5 separate regions of the Homo sapiens genome follow, and regions 1, 2, 4 and 5 are each linked to region 3. Evidence: promoter capture Hi-C in 16 types of primary human blood cells and fetal thymus (Javierre and others, 2016). All regions are on one chromosome and are shown on one strand. The core of a region is centred on a gene start or on the middle of the fragment in contact, and the rest is flanking DNA. Distances in the headings are between cores, read along the strand shown.

Region 1 (2,700 bases), core at 14-2,513, 230 kb after region 3:
CAATCCTCTATTTCATACATGAAGAGAGTGAGGCTCAGAGAAATGCAGCTATTTTCCCAAGGTTGGACCCAGCTAGTTAGTAGCAAAGCCAGGACTGGCTTCTGTTTTCTGATTCTCAGTGCAGTGCTCTTTTTATGACACCCCTTAAAGAGGGTATTTAACTTTCAGAAGAGTTAGGTTGTTGTAATAATTTGAACATTAAATCAAATAAGTAAATGAATTTGAAGAACAAGTTCATAACTGTATCTATGTCATAGCCTCTTCTATAACTTGCTAGCTCACTTTTCTTTTGCCCGCTTCAATAAAAGTTCTGAAACGATTTTCATATGTGCAATTTTTTTCTTTTAAATAACTCAAAATATTTTTGAAACATGCTTACTGACTAAAAAAGATTTCTATTTACTGAGAGTAATAAACATGCTAGGTACATACTCAGAATATAGTCTTGTTCTTCGGGAGGTAAAGCTCACCTTATCATCAGAGCATTGTAGAAAGGAAAGGGATGGTAAGAATATAATCATTTTGGTGTCTGCCATCATTACTGCCAAAATAGTATGTTTGCATGAATTTACATTCACCTAGTTCATTTCCTTTGATCTTGCCAGTTGTGTACATGGTCATTAATCCCACTTTAGAGGTAAAAAAAGCAGAAGCTCAAAGACAAGGGCCTTCCTCTCATTAGTAAAGGGCAACTCTAGGAACCAAACCCCACCTTCTGGCTCAGTCTTTTATAGCACAAAGCTTTTCTCCATGTACAGGGAAGATAAACCGCAGAGGGTAAGAATCATCATGTAGTAAGTTATAGGTGCCAAGAGATTTCAAGCTACTGGCCTAAATTGCATCTCAGGAAGTTGTCTACTTGATATCTCCATATGAACGTCTTCTAACTTAATATATGTCAAACTTAACATGGCCAAAACTATTGATTTCTCTTCCCAAATGTTCCTCCCCAGACATCCTCATCTCAATTAAATGGTTCCACTATTCACCCAGTTTCTCAAGCCAAAAATCTATGAATGATCCTAATTTATCTATCTCTAATTTCCCAGATTCCATCAGCAAATTCCGCTGACTCTATCTCCAAGCATAGTCTGGATGTCCACTTCTTTTTATCCACCATTATCATTGTTCCAAACTGCCATCATCTGTCATCTGGCTACAGTCGCAGCAGCTTCTTTTTATTTTTTTAATTTTTTTTTTTAAAGACCGGATCTTGCTCTGTCATCCAGGCTGGAAGTGCAGTGGTGGAATCACAGCTCACTGCAGCCTCAACCTCCCAGGGTCAAGTGATCCTCCTACCTCAGCCTCCCGAGTAGCTGGGACTACAGGTGCATCCCACAATACCTAGCTAATTTTTGTATATTTTGTAGAGACAGGGTTTCACCATGTTGCCCAGACTGGTCTGGAACTCCAGGGCTCAAGCGATTCACTCTTCTTGGCCTCCCAAAGTGCTGGTATTACAGGTGTGAGCCACCACACCCAACCAATTCCCTAACTGACCTCCACTCCACTCTCTAGCAGCAGCCAGGGCAACCTTTTAAGAATGTACATACCTAATCCCATTACTCCCCTGCCGTGGCCCTCTGATGTCAATCCTACTCAATCTTGCTTCTCCCCTCACCTTAGCTACTCTCCATCTTGCCAGCTATGCTCCAGCCACACCAGCCTCATTTCTGTCCCTCAAACATGTCCAACTCTTTTCCATCTTGGGTTGTTTTTTTGTTTTGTTTTGTTTTTTGACAGCTTTATTGAGATGTAATTCACATACCAGAAAATTCACCCTTTTGAAGCTTCCAAGTCAGTGGTTTTTAGTAGACTCAGGGTCATTCAACCAATGTCACTCGTTTTTTTCTTGCCTAATTTTTAGAACATTTTCATTACCTCTCTCTCCCAGAAAAAACGCCATCCATTATCAGAAAATTCCCATTATCCTCTCTCCTCCAGCCTATGGATTTGCCTATTTTGGACATTTCATATAAATGGAATAATAACATATGTAGTCTGTTGTGACAGGGTTTTTTCACTTAGCATATTTTTCAGGTTCATCCATGTCATAAGCATGTGATTATGGTTATGGCTGAGTATTAATAATATTCCACCGTATGGCTATATACCACATTTTTTTAACGCATCCCTCAGTTGGATATTTGGGTTGTTTTCACTTTTTGGCCATTCTGAATAATGCTGCTATGAAGATTCGGGTACACATTTTTGTGTGAGCACAATGTTTCCAATTCTCTTGAGTATAAACCTAGGAAAGGAAATGCTGGGTCATAAGATACTTCTGTGTTTCACTTTTTGAGGAACTGCCAAACTGTTTTCCACACAGGTTGCACCATTTTTAAGAGGTAAACATGGTACCATGAATGTATGAAGTTTCCAAATTTCTCCACATCCTTGCCAACACTAGTTTTTGTCTGTTTTTTGAATTATAGCCATCCTAATGGGTGTGAAGTGGTATCTCATTGTGGTTCTGATTTGCATATCCCTAAAGACAGATGAAGTTGCTGATCTTTTATATGCTTACTGGCCATTCATATTATGTATCTGCTTGAAACAAATGTCTACTCAGGGCCAGGGCAGTGGCTCATGCCTGTAATCCCAGCACTTAGGGAGGCTGAGGCAGGTGGATCACCTGAGGATAGGAGTTCGAGACCAGCCAGGTCAACATGGTGAAACCCCGTCTCTACTAAAAGTACA
Region 2 (2,700 bases), core at 201-2,700, 150 kb after region 3:
AAAAATTAGCCGGGCGTGGTGGTGGCTGCCTGTAATCCCAGCTACTCGGGAGGTTGAGGCAGGAGAATTGCTTGAACCCAGGAGGTGGAAGTTGCAGTGAGCCGAGATCGCACCACTGTACTCTAGCCTGGGAGACAGAGTGAGACTCCGACTCAAAAAAAAAAAAAAAAAAAAAAAGAAGTACACATATTGAAAATTTATATTCACTGAGATTTGACCACTGTCAAGATGTAAAACACTGTTGTACTGATTTTTATGACCCACTGATGGGTTGCAAACAGGACTTCAAATAATCTGACCTTAATACAAGGCAGGAGTAGAAGCTCTGGGGCATAAACATAGTATTTGCAAGTCTCCTTCCTTTTGCTTCTAGGCCCCAGAGACCTTCTTCCTGTCCACCCCCAACCCAGGCCACTTCCCTCTACTCCCTGCAGACCACATCTGCTCTTAATCTGCCCTAGAAGGTGAGGAGGTCACTTCCTAGTGACATACACTGGTCACTTGGTCACCTGCTTCTTCATTAGCAGCTGTATCAAGGAAGGCAGATACCTAGAACCTTCTTAACTGTTCTGGAGGCTACTAGTGCTACACGACCTCACCGTACATGTTTGAATTAATTTTCAGTTGATAAAATACCTTTCCTGTAGGTCCAGTCCTCTCAACCACCCACTGAAGTGGTCGGGGATTATGATGCTAGTTTGTCCTGTGTGAAAGTGGAGGCTCAGAGAGGTGGAGGTAACTGGCCCGAGACTCCGGAGCTGAGGGGTGCTGGAGCTGGGATTTGAATTTTGGCATCCCGACTCCTGCCAGCCCCCCTAAGGCTAAGTGGGCAGCAGAGTGGGTTATCCCTCGGGTCCATTCATCATTTACAGTGTTGTATCCATGGGGAGGCTGTGTTCTGGGTCCCAAACACTCGCTGTTTGGGAGACTGGCAGTGTGTGAAAAGGGCCTCCCTTCACAGACTGCAGGAACCCTCCTGCACTTGTTTCCAGGATGGCCTGACCTTACTGCACTGCGCAGCCCAAAAAGGCCATGTGCCTGTGCTGGCGTTCATAATGGAGGACCTGGAGGATGTGGCCCTGGACCACGTAGACAAGGTGAGAGTGCCTCAGGGCTACTCATCATTCCCATTGGGCGGGGGGCTCCTGGGGCCACTCTTGCACACTGGGCTTACCACATTCCTTGGGTGCATCCTTTGATCTGTGGGCATATTGCACCTGGCCTGGGGAGCCGCTGGTTGGGAAGAGGTGTTGAGGCGCAAATGAGCAGAATACAAGCAGAACACAGTCAGTTGCCACAGAGAGGTCTTGATCAAGGACTAGGTGGGTTAGAAAAGCAAGCCATTGCTTCTGCTTCCTGGAGGAGGTGGCATTTGGTAAATAAACTGGATTTGTGGGTAAGATTGGAAATCAGGGGTTGGAGAGGGCACCAAATGGAAGAGCGAGGCTTGTGGGAGCTTTAGGGACAGGAAAGGGCTCTAGTGTGAGTTCTGAGGGACTGGAATCTTAGGAGGGAAGGTCTGATGGGTGGTTGGGGGTCCCTCTGGCGATCTCAACCCCCATCCTCAAGAATCTGTTTATTCATTAGGCAGCAAGGAGCCACCTCAGGACTTCAGCCAGGGAGGGACCCCAGCAAGTGTCTCTTGTTGGGAAGTTGGGTCTGGGCTTTCCAGGCAGGGTGTGGGGAGGCAAGGGGAGAGGACAGTGTCTGGGGCAGGAGAGGCCACTACAAAGCCAGAGTGGTTGGGGAACAGAGGCCAGGTGGGCAGAGGCAGGTATGCCCACTGACAGAGTGAGGAAGGCTCACACCGCTTCTCCTCCCGGCCAGCTGGGGAGGACGGCGTTTCACAGGGCAGCTGAGCACGGGCAGCTGGATGCTCTGGACTTCCTCGTGGGCTCTGGCTGTGACCACAATGTCAAAGACAAGGTACCGTGTCCGTGAGGCTCTGGGATCCTGACCAGGGTGCAAAACTTGCCACCTTCCAGGCTCTGGCTCCTCACCTGTGTCCACGTCTGACTCCGATTGCGCTGGAGGCCCGTGTGGCCCAAAGATGAGAGTGTATTTAGTGTTCATCCAGCAGGCCCTTCACCAGCGTGTGCTATGGGCCAGCCCTGTGCTACAGGTTGGTGGCATAAAGATGCCCAAGACACCGTTTCTTACTCGAGGAACTCAGTGCCACAGGCATAGTAAGGATTTCTGATCCGACGTGGCTGGCCAGGGTGGCAGATCTGGGTGGTTGGTAGTGCTGCCTGGAGTGGGTTGAGCAGGGCTGTGATCTACTGGGGTTGTCTGTTGTTGACAGATGTGGGGAAGTGTTAGGGGGTGGTAGCCACACATCTGCTCTGCTATGGTTATGGCAGGAATAGGTTGGGAGCATGGAGAAGGTAGCATATCATTCAGGGCTTGTGAGCAGGATTTCACCAATCTGAGAAGGGGTAAGGGACGGGGACCAGAGGGTCTACCCTGCAAATGACTCTTATCATTGGACCCTTGTGAATCATTAGGCAAAATATGTTACAGCAAATTCCCTTTTTTTTTTTTTTTTTTTTGAGACGGAGTCTCGCTCTGTCGTCCAGGCTGGAGTGCAGTGGCGCTGTCTTGGCTCACTGCAAGCTCCGCCTCCCGGGTTCACACCATTCTCCTGCCTCAGCCTCCCGAATAGCTGGGACTGTAGGCGCCCGCCACCACACCCAGCTAATT
Region 3 (2,700 bases), core at 53-2,552:
AATGACGCAGCAGAGGCCAGAGGCCCTGCGAAGCCTGTCCCCTTCTACTCCAGTTCTTGTCTCCGCCAGCCTAGCTCCTCGTCCCTATTCACTGATATCTTTGAGGCTTTTATCCAGCACCCCACCCCGCACACACATCCTCCCTACCATCCATTAACCACCCAGCTGCTGGTGGTTCCACGGAGCCGCCTTACACTCCCTCCCTTTCGCACATGGCCGGTGGACGAGATGATTTCGCCCCTCCTGGCAGGATCCCACCCAGGCCAGCTTTGGGGTCCTGGCTTGGTTGCCAGGACAAACCCAGAGAGAGGAGAAGGACGAACTGAGTGTCTTTAGTCATCTTCCAAACTAATTAAATTGTGGGCTCACCTCTGCCAAAGCCCAGGTTCTGGGGCTGTGAAGAAAGCCCGCCCACCCCCATGACAACAGCTCGCAGGAACCGAGGAGCCGGCCGGCCCAGGCCTCCAAGGTCACGGGGAGGGGGTCAGGGCGGAAAAGGCAGTGGAGTGAGGGTGCCGCCCTCGGGCCGTGCTAATCCCGCTCCGCTCCGTGCCGCCGAGGCGGGGTCCTGGCCACGCAGGAGGTGCGCCTCGGAGGAGGGCGGCGAGCGGCTACGGGGTGGGGAGCAAGGGGCGCGCGGGCGGCAGGCATGGAACGGACGCGGCGCATCTCGCCCACCGCGGGACGCCCGGACGGCGGCCGGCGCGCGCGGCCCGCCTCGAGCCCGAGAGGGCGGGGAGACAATGCCTGTCCGGCGGGGCAGTCCAGGCCGCACGCTCCCGCCCGCGGACACGGGCCGCTCCTACCCGGGCGAGAGGGCAGCGGCGGGAAGGCGCCGGGAGCGATGGCCACCCCGGCCCCGCGAGGCGCGGCAGGCCCCGCTCGCCCTCTCCCGCGCCCGCCTGGCGTGCGCTTCACCCGGCAAGTCCCGGGGCCACAGACCCACCTCCTCCTCCAGGGCGCCGCCGGAGCCCGCGCCGGAGCCGGTGCCGGTGCTGCCGCCGTGCTCGCCGTCCGGCTTCAGGTTGCTCATGGTGCGGGGGAGGGGGCGGCGGGAAGGAACGCGAGGGCGAGCGCGGCGCCGGCCCCGCGGGAAGTGGGAAGGGGCGCGGGGAGCGGTGCGCTCGCGGGTGCGGAGCGGGTGGCGGGGGACCCACGGGGCAGTGAGAGGGGCAGCCTCCGCGTCGGGCCAGGGTCACATCAAGTTTGGCGGGTGCGGAAGGTGGGGAGGGGGTGCGGCGGGGGAGGCAGTGGGAGCCGGAGGGGCCGCCGCCTCCGCCTTTTCACTGCGACCGGCGAGTGCGCCGCGGCGGCGGCGGCGGCGGCAGCGGCGGCGGGGGGCGGGCGCCGGGGGAGGGGGCGGGCGCCGGCGGCGGGGGGCGGGGCCGGAACCGGCCTCAGCTGGGGCCCGGCCAGCCCCCTCCCCCGCCCGCCGCGCGGTCTCCGGGGGAACGCGCAGCCAATCCCCACCGCCCACCGTGGGCTCGCCCCGGCCCCGGCCGCGGGGCGCCGGCCTCCGGCCGGGCCTTTCCCCTCTCTCTCGCCTGGGTCAGCGCTCTCCCTCTCTCCTCTTCCCCCGCGCCCTTCTCCACGGCGAGTTTTTAAACTTTGATGAACTCGCCCGGCGAACTTTCTTAAAGGGGCCGCGCGCTGCGCGCCCCAGCCCGCGGGAGGTGGAGCCCCGTGCCCCGCACCCAGCGCCCCGGTCCCTGGGCGGCCCTGCCCGGGCGGCCTCGCGCTTAGGGCACCCGCAGCGAGGTTTCCGGGCCGTCGACTCCCCTTGTATCTTGATCTAGGGTTTTGGGGTTCCCGACGCACTCATTCTGCCCCTAAATCCAGTCGCGCAGACCTCAGCTCCGGGGGACCGAGTTCTGGGGGTGATGGCCGGGGGGAGGGGGTTGGGAGACACCTGAGCTTTGGCCCGGGCTGGGCGCTGTTTTGCTGAGTGACCTTGAGGAAATCACTTCCCCTCTCTGGCCTCAGGCTCCCAGCCCAGAGGGTGGGACTTAGGATCTCAAACTCCCTTCCCACTCCCAGTCACTATCTGAATAGGACTTAGGTGGGGATTCGAGTGTTGGGACCCCAATGGTCATTAGCGAGGGCTGCCTCGAATGACCAAGAAGGTTCTGTTGCCCACCTTGCCCTCAACACGCCTGGCTTTCGGGTCTTCTCGCTCCTCCCCCGACCTCAGTGCCCCTCACACCTTTCCCTGCCTCCTATTCTGAGCCCGAAGGCTGGGGACGGATGTAATAGCCTAGAGGCTGGGGGAGGTGGGGGAGGTCGTCGTGACTCCCCCCGCACCCCCGCGCAGGTCAGTAGGGCGCGGCCTCTGGGTCGGTTTTCTCTTCTATTTGAAAACCCAGCCGATGGGGGCCCGCCCTGCTGCCACAGTAGAAACCCGCACCCACCTCGGGGAGCGCTGGAAGCGCTGCAGCCTGAATCCGGCAGAGCCGCGGGAGAACTGGGTCCCTCCTCAGTGCCCCTTCTCCTGGACGGGGCGGAGGTTGCGGTGACCCGAGATCTTGCCATTGCACTCCAGCCAGGGCAACAAGAGCGAAACTCCGTCTCAAAAAAAGAAAAGAAAAAAGAAAAGCTGGATTTGCAGTCACGGACTGGTTAGGATCCCAGACCGTGGACAAGTGCCTGAGCCCCCAGAACCTCTGTGTGTCGACCTCCTGAATTAGGTAGGACTAGCACCAC
Region 4 (2,700 bases), core at 154-2,653, 190 kb after region 3:
TCCTGCCTCAGCCTCCCGAATAGCTGGGACTACAGGTGTGTGCCACCATGCCCGGCTAATTTTTGTATTTTCAGTAGAGACGGGTTTCACCACGTTGGCCAGGATGGTCTCGATCTCTTGACCTCATGATCCACCCGCCTTGGCCTCCCAAAGTTCTGGGATTACAGGGGTGAGCCACCGCGCCCGGCCTAATTTTCTTTATTAGTAGTAGAGACAGGGTCTCCTGTATTGCCCAGACTGGTCTCGAATTCCTGGGCTCAAGCAATCCTCTTGAGTCAGCCTCCCAAAGTGCTGGGATTGCAGGAATGAGCCACTGTGCCCTGCCCAAACATATACTTTTACACCAATGTTCATAGAAGCACTATTCACAATTGCCAAAAGCTGAACACAACCCAAGTGACCACTGACGGATGAATGGATAAACAAAATGTGGTATAAACCAACATTGGTTTTATTGGTAGATATTATTCAGCTTTAAAAAGAAATAGGCTGGGCGTGGTGGCTCATGCCTGTCATAGCACTTTGGGAGGCCCAGGCAGGCAGACAGCTTGAGTCCCAGAGTTTGAGTCCAGCATGGGCAACATGGTGAAACCCCATCTCTACAAAAAATTAGCCGAACGTAGTGGTGTGAGCCTGTGGTCCAAGCTACTAAGGAGGCTGAGGAGGGAGGATTGTTTGGGCCCGGGAGGCAGAGGTTGCAGTGAGCTGAGATTGCACCACTGCACTCCAGCCTGGGGAACAGAGTGAGACCCTGTTTCCAAAAAAAAAAAAAAAAAAAGAAAGAAATGACATTCTGACACATGTATAACATTTCAAGATAAGTCTTGTGAAACATTATGCTAAGTGAAATGGCCACACAAAAGGATAAATGTTGTATGATTCTACTTATATGAGGTTCTAGAATAGGTAAATTTTTATAGACAGAAAATAAAACCGTTGATTATCAGAGGCCGGGGGAAGAAAGGGAACAGGAGTTATTGTTTAATGGGTATGCAATTTCTTCTTGGAATGATGAAAATGTTGTGAAAATGGTGATGGTTGCCGAACTGTGAATATACTTAATGCCACTGAACTATGCACTTAAAAATGGTTAAAATGGCATATTTTAAATGTACATTTTACCACAATAAAAAAATAAGCAAGCTTTTGTGGTAATTAAACTATGGAATTCTTGATTCTCTACCCTTGTTACCCTTGTGAAGCACCTTCTCTTTGCTGCCCATATATGTGCAATATATGGTGCAATATCTATTGATGAGAACAGCAAAAATACATCAAATGGGTAGACTCCCTTGTTTAAATTTATTTTGATTCATTTTTATTTTTATTTTTTTTTAATAAATACAGACAGGGTCTCACTATGTTGCCCAGGCTGGTCCTGAACTCTTGGACTCAAGCAATCCTCCTGCCTCAGCCTCCCAAAGCGCTGGGATTACAGGCATAAGCCACTGTGCTCGGCCTATTTTGATTTCAATGGTGTTATTCCTGCCAGAAAGAAATCCAAGATAAGCAATAAACAGATTATTTTGGAATTGAGAAAGCTGGAGGGTAAAAACAAAAGCCAAGGCAGCATTTGAAGAGGTACATTGAAAGTTATCAAATAGTTTTATAGGAGATCTTGACATACACATTTTAAAAAGTAAAGCAGCTATTTTACTTAAAAGGAAGCTTACATCCATAATAGTTACAGGTATGTCCCGAATTTTATGAGGTTCCACATAAGAATTTTGACAATTCAAGGTAAGTCTTGAAGCCAGTTCACTCTGACCCAAACTTTCTAGCTGCAGGAAGAAACACAGGTAAAGTTTTTGAAATAATTTTGTTTTTCACATTTACATTAAATCCACAGACAACATTTGTGCTTATAAAGGTGGTATCATCTGTGGTGGGGCCAGAAAAGTCATCAGTGAGGAACCACAACTTAGGTGAGAGACCATGAACTGGGCTTCTCAGGAGGTTGTGGCATTTTTCTATTCTGGAAACCTGGGTACAAACCAATGAAACCCGGCCTTCTACAGCCCTCAGCCTACACTGCCTACTCCAGCCAGGTGCCCATGGGCAGCAAGCCAATTCCTACTGCTCAAAGGTGACAGATATATGTTTTTGTTTTTTTTTTTTTTTTAAGATAAACCTTTAAGGGATCTTAAAAGAGATTTGAGAAATCATCTAGCCCAGCAGTTCCTAAATGCAAGCCAACAGACCTGGTTCATCAGATTTACCTGGTGGGTAGAGGAAAAGTGTGAAGTAAAAATAGATTCCCAGATCCCATGCCCAGGGATTCCAGATGGATGATCTGCTGTGAGGCCTTACAATCTGTATTTTTGAAAGCTCCCCTAAGTGATTTTGATGAATAGCTGGTGGGAAGCACTGATGTAGGCAAGCCCTTACCAGCAATAATATCTGCTCAGATGTATTACTCTGCTTAGCAAATACCTCTTACACATACTTGTGAGACAGATCTATCTTCTGGAACCAAGTAGATGTGAAAATTCCCAATACAATGTGTCCCCAACCCAATGTCATGATCCTTACCCTGTCTACCATGAAATCAATGGCATCAGCCATCATAGGGTCCACCGGGCCAGATGAAAAATTTCCAAGAACTATTTTTTTGAGCATAAATGCAGGCATCAGCCAAAAGCTGTAAAACACAAAGACCTTATAATTTAAACTTCCAAGACTACACATGGCAAATATTCA
Region 5 (2,700 bases), core at 141-2,640, 170 kb after region 3:
TAAAGTAATGTAAGTGTACTAAGCACATGTAAGGTAGGCTAAGCTAAACTATTGATGGTGTGTAGGTTAGAGGGATTAAATGCATTTTCAACATATATATATATATATATATATATGAACTTTTTTTTTTTTTTTGAGACGGAGTCTCACTCTGTCACCCAGGCTGGAGTGCAGTGGTGCGATCTCAGCTTGCCGCAACCTCTGCCTACTGGGTTCAAGCGATTCTCCTGTCTTAGCCTCCCAAGTAGCTGGGACTACAGGTGTGTGCCACCATGCCCAGCTAATTTTTTGTATTTTTAGTAGAGATGGGGTTTCACTATGTTGGCCAGGATGGTCTCAATCTTCTGACCTTGTGATCTGCCCACCTCAGCCTCCCAAAGTGCTGGGATTACAGGTGTGAGCCACCATGCCTGGCCGAATTATGATTTTTATCAAGACATAACCCCATCATAAGTTGAGGGGCATCTGTGTTGAATCTGCTAAGTTACAAATTTAAAAACCTAGTTTTTCTTAAACTTTAAAATTCATTTTATAAATCTTATTATTCTATTTATACAACTAGTAAATTTTTCCTGTCAGTTTCAAGGAAGTCTTTTGAGTAATGTTGGGTCCCATGTTTAAACTTAGTTAAACTAACTTAAACATTGAAACTGAATAAATAAACTTAATATAACAGATTTTCTTTTTAAGCACTTCAAATGCTTCTTAAATTCTTAAATTATCCTAATAAGACCATTAACTTAAACCTATAAATAATCTCAAATATCTTAAACATTCCAATGTGGTTTACAAACTTAGTAAACTTCTTATCCCTTTCAAATAAAAATCACTGTTTCAGAATCAATTGGTAGATAAATTTCAGTAGGAATCATAAGATGTTCTCCCACTGATATGCTAGATTCCCTTAAACATGACAACCCCTTTACATACAACAGATTATTCCTAAATATAATCCCAAAATGTTAATACTGAGGGTTGGACTAGCCGATTCATCTCTGTGCTGAGTACTAAGCCACTTCAGGCTTTACAGGTCCTCACCACTAAGGCAGTGGCTGCATGTCAGAATCACAAATCTCCCCTGGACCCCTAGGCCAATTCAGGTAGAATCTCTGAGGTAGGGGCCAGACATCAGTGGTTCTTAAAGTTCCCAGATGGTCTCAATGTGCAGATGGGGCTGAAAACACTGCCCCAGGGGACCAGTTTTTAATACCCCAGGTGAGAACCAAGCTTCACCTCACAGTGATTGCCAGAGACTGTTGACCATGACATAAGCTTTGGAACTGCAGACACCAGGATGATTTTTTTCACCCTGAACTTAACAACCAGAACTCTGCATCCATTCCCTTTAGAGGGCCTTAGGCTTCTGTGGGCATCATTTATGCTATGACAGAATTCTTTAGTAACCTCTAATTTCATTGCCTGCTTTGCTAGAAAGGATTTTGTAATCCCACCCTTTACTACCCCTTGTGATTCAGCAAATCCGATTCTTGCCCTGCCTGGTTTTGGCCAAAGCTTCGGAGTACTTCTGCTGACACCCATGCTATAAGAACACAGGAAAGAGAGGCAGGTGACCGGAGGAATCTGGAAAGGCTCCCTGGAAGTAGCACATGGGTAGTCTTTTGACTATGACAATGAGGTTGAGGGGCAGGAAGGTGAGCAGAGGAATTCCGGGTGGAAGAACAGTGGGAGCAACTTGGGTTCCAGAGGTCAAGGCAAGGCATGGAGTGAGAAACCAGAAGAGAGGACATTAAGCCCCTGGCCCTTGCTGACTCCAGCTCCCAGGCACCCCAGCAGAGGTGGTAGGAGGGTCATAGGGGCCTCGGCTCGGCACTGCCCCTGTCTGGGATCATGAGGGAGAGCTTCTGCACTTTTGGGATCTGCCCCACAGGACCACCCCAGTGATCCCTCTGGGAAGAGCTTGTCCTTTAAGCAGGACCATCGGCAGGAAACACAGCAGCTCCGTTCTGTGCTGTGGCGGCTGGCCTCCAGGTATCTGCAGCCCCGTGAGTGGAAGAAGCTGGCATATTCCTGGGAGTTCACGGAGGCACATGTCGACGCCATCGAGCAACAGTGGACAGGTACCACCTTGCCTCTCCTCGCCCTAAGCAACCATTGGGCGGAGGGGTGGGACACCTGAAATGTGTTCAGTTTTCTGTGCTTCTGGTGAAAGGGCCTGTGCAACCCACAGCCTGGTCCCACACTGTCCAACACACCTGGTGCTCTGTCCCTCCTCCAGGCCTCTGCACAGGGTGCACACTCTGCCTCTCCCCATTGATTGTGAATTTCACATTCTTCACCAATCAGCCCAAACTGATACCCACTGTTTATACCTAAACTAAAACCATTCTTGGTAAAAAGAAGAGGGCCTGCTGTTGTCACTATTATTCAACATCTATATGGAAATTTTGGCCCTGGTACTAAGGTGTGAAAAGGAAATAGAAATAAGGAGTGTAAATATTGTAAAGGAAGAGAGAGACTTATTGATTTCAGATGGAATACTTAATATACATAGGACGTCCAGAGGAATCAACTAAAAAAATCTTAGAATTAATCAAATAATTCAAGGAAATGGCTAAATATAGAAAATATACTAACACCACAGAACTCCTATGAACCATGGCTAAATGGGCAAAAAATATAGAGAGAGAATCTTTTAAAAGAGATTCCATTTACAATGGTGTGTGTGTTTCATCTGGAAAA

What was found. Contacts are between HindIII fragments. The CHiCAGO score rates a contact against its expected background, and 5 or more counts as called.
Region 1: a fragment that was not itself captured here is called in contact with the fragment with the promoter of RBPMS2 in region 3 in 2 of 17 cell types (M0 macrophages and endothelial precursors); the score reaches 5.9 in M0 macrophages.
Region 2: a contact is called between a fragment that was not itself captured here and the fragment with the promoter of RBPMS2 in region 3, in 4 of 17 cell types (M1 macrophages, M2 macrophages, naive CD4 T cells and 1 more). The highest score is 7.0, in M1 macrophages.
Region 4: a contact is called between a fragment that was not itself captured here and the fragment with the promoter of RBPMS2 in region 3, in 1 of 17 cell types (endothelial precursors). The highest score is 5.8, in endothelial precursors.
Region 5: a contact is called between a fragment that was not itself captured here and the fragment with the promoter of RBPMS2 in region 3, in 1 of 17 cell types (endothelial precursors). The highest score is 5.8, in endothelial precursors.

What each region holds. Positions count from the first base shown.
Region 1 is chr15:65,008,469-65,011,168 of GRCh38, forward strand. The region is part of intron 6 of MTFMT (mitochondrial methionyl-tRNA formyltransferase); the gene reads right to left. Among named protein-coding and RNA genes, the nearest start is that of MTFMT, 20 kb to the right of the region's middle. The HindIII fragment of the contact is 1,049 bases long and covers 740-1,788 here.
Region 2 is chr15:64,925,074-64,927,773 of GRCh38, forward strand. ANKDD1A (ankyrin repeat and death domain containing 1A) reads left to right here. Exons shown (of 15, transcript NM_182703.6): 5 at 993-1,097; 6 at 1,828-1,926. Among named protein-coding and RNA genes, the nearest start is that of ANKDD1A, 15 kb to the left of the region's middle. The HindIII fragment of the contact is 3,928 bases long and covers 1-2,700 here.
Region 3 is chr15:64,774,287-64,776,986 of GRCh38, forward strand. It overlaps RBPMS2 (RNA binding protein, mRNA processing factor 2), which reads right to left and starts at 1,303. Exons shown (of 8, transcript NM_194272.3): 1 at 947-1,303. The coding sequence starts at 1,033. RefSeq lists enhancers at 1,164-2,010, 2,011-2,700 and a silencer at 1,479-1,728. The HindIII fragment of the contact is 6,915 bases long and covers 1-2,700 here.
Region 4 is chr15:64,967,582-64,970,281 of GRCh38, forward strand. SPG21 (SPG21 abhydrolase domain containing, maspardin) reads right to left here. Exons shown (of 9, transcript NM_016630.7): 6 at 2,533-2,641; 7 at 1,674-1,781. Among named protein-coding and RNA genes, the nearest start is that of SPG21, 21 kb to the right of the region's middle. The HindIII fragment of the contact is 525 bases long and covers 1,142-1,666 here.
Region 5 is chr15:64,945,516-64,948,215 of GRCh38, forward strand. ANKDD1A (ankyrin repeat and death domain containing 1A) reads left to right here. Exons shown (of 15, transcript NM_182703.6): 13 at 1,889-2,078. Among named protein-coding and RNA genes, the nearest start is that of ANKDD1A, 35 kb to the left of the region's middle. RefSeq lists enhancers at 1,451-1,951, 1,952-2,452. The HindIII fragment of the contact is 240 bases long and covers 1,271-1,510 here.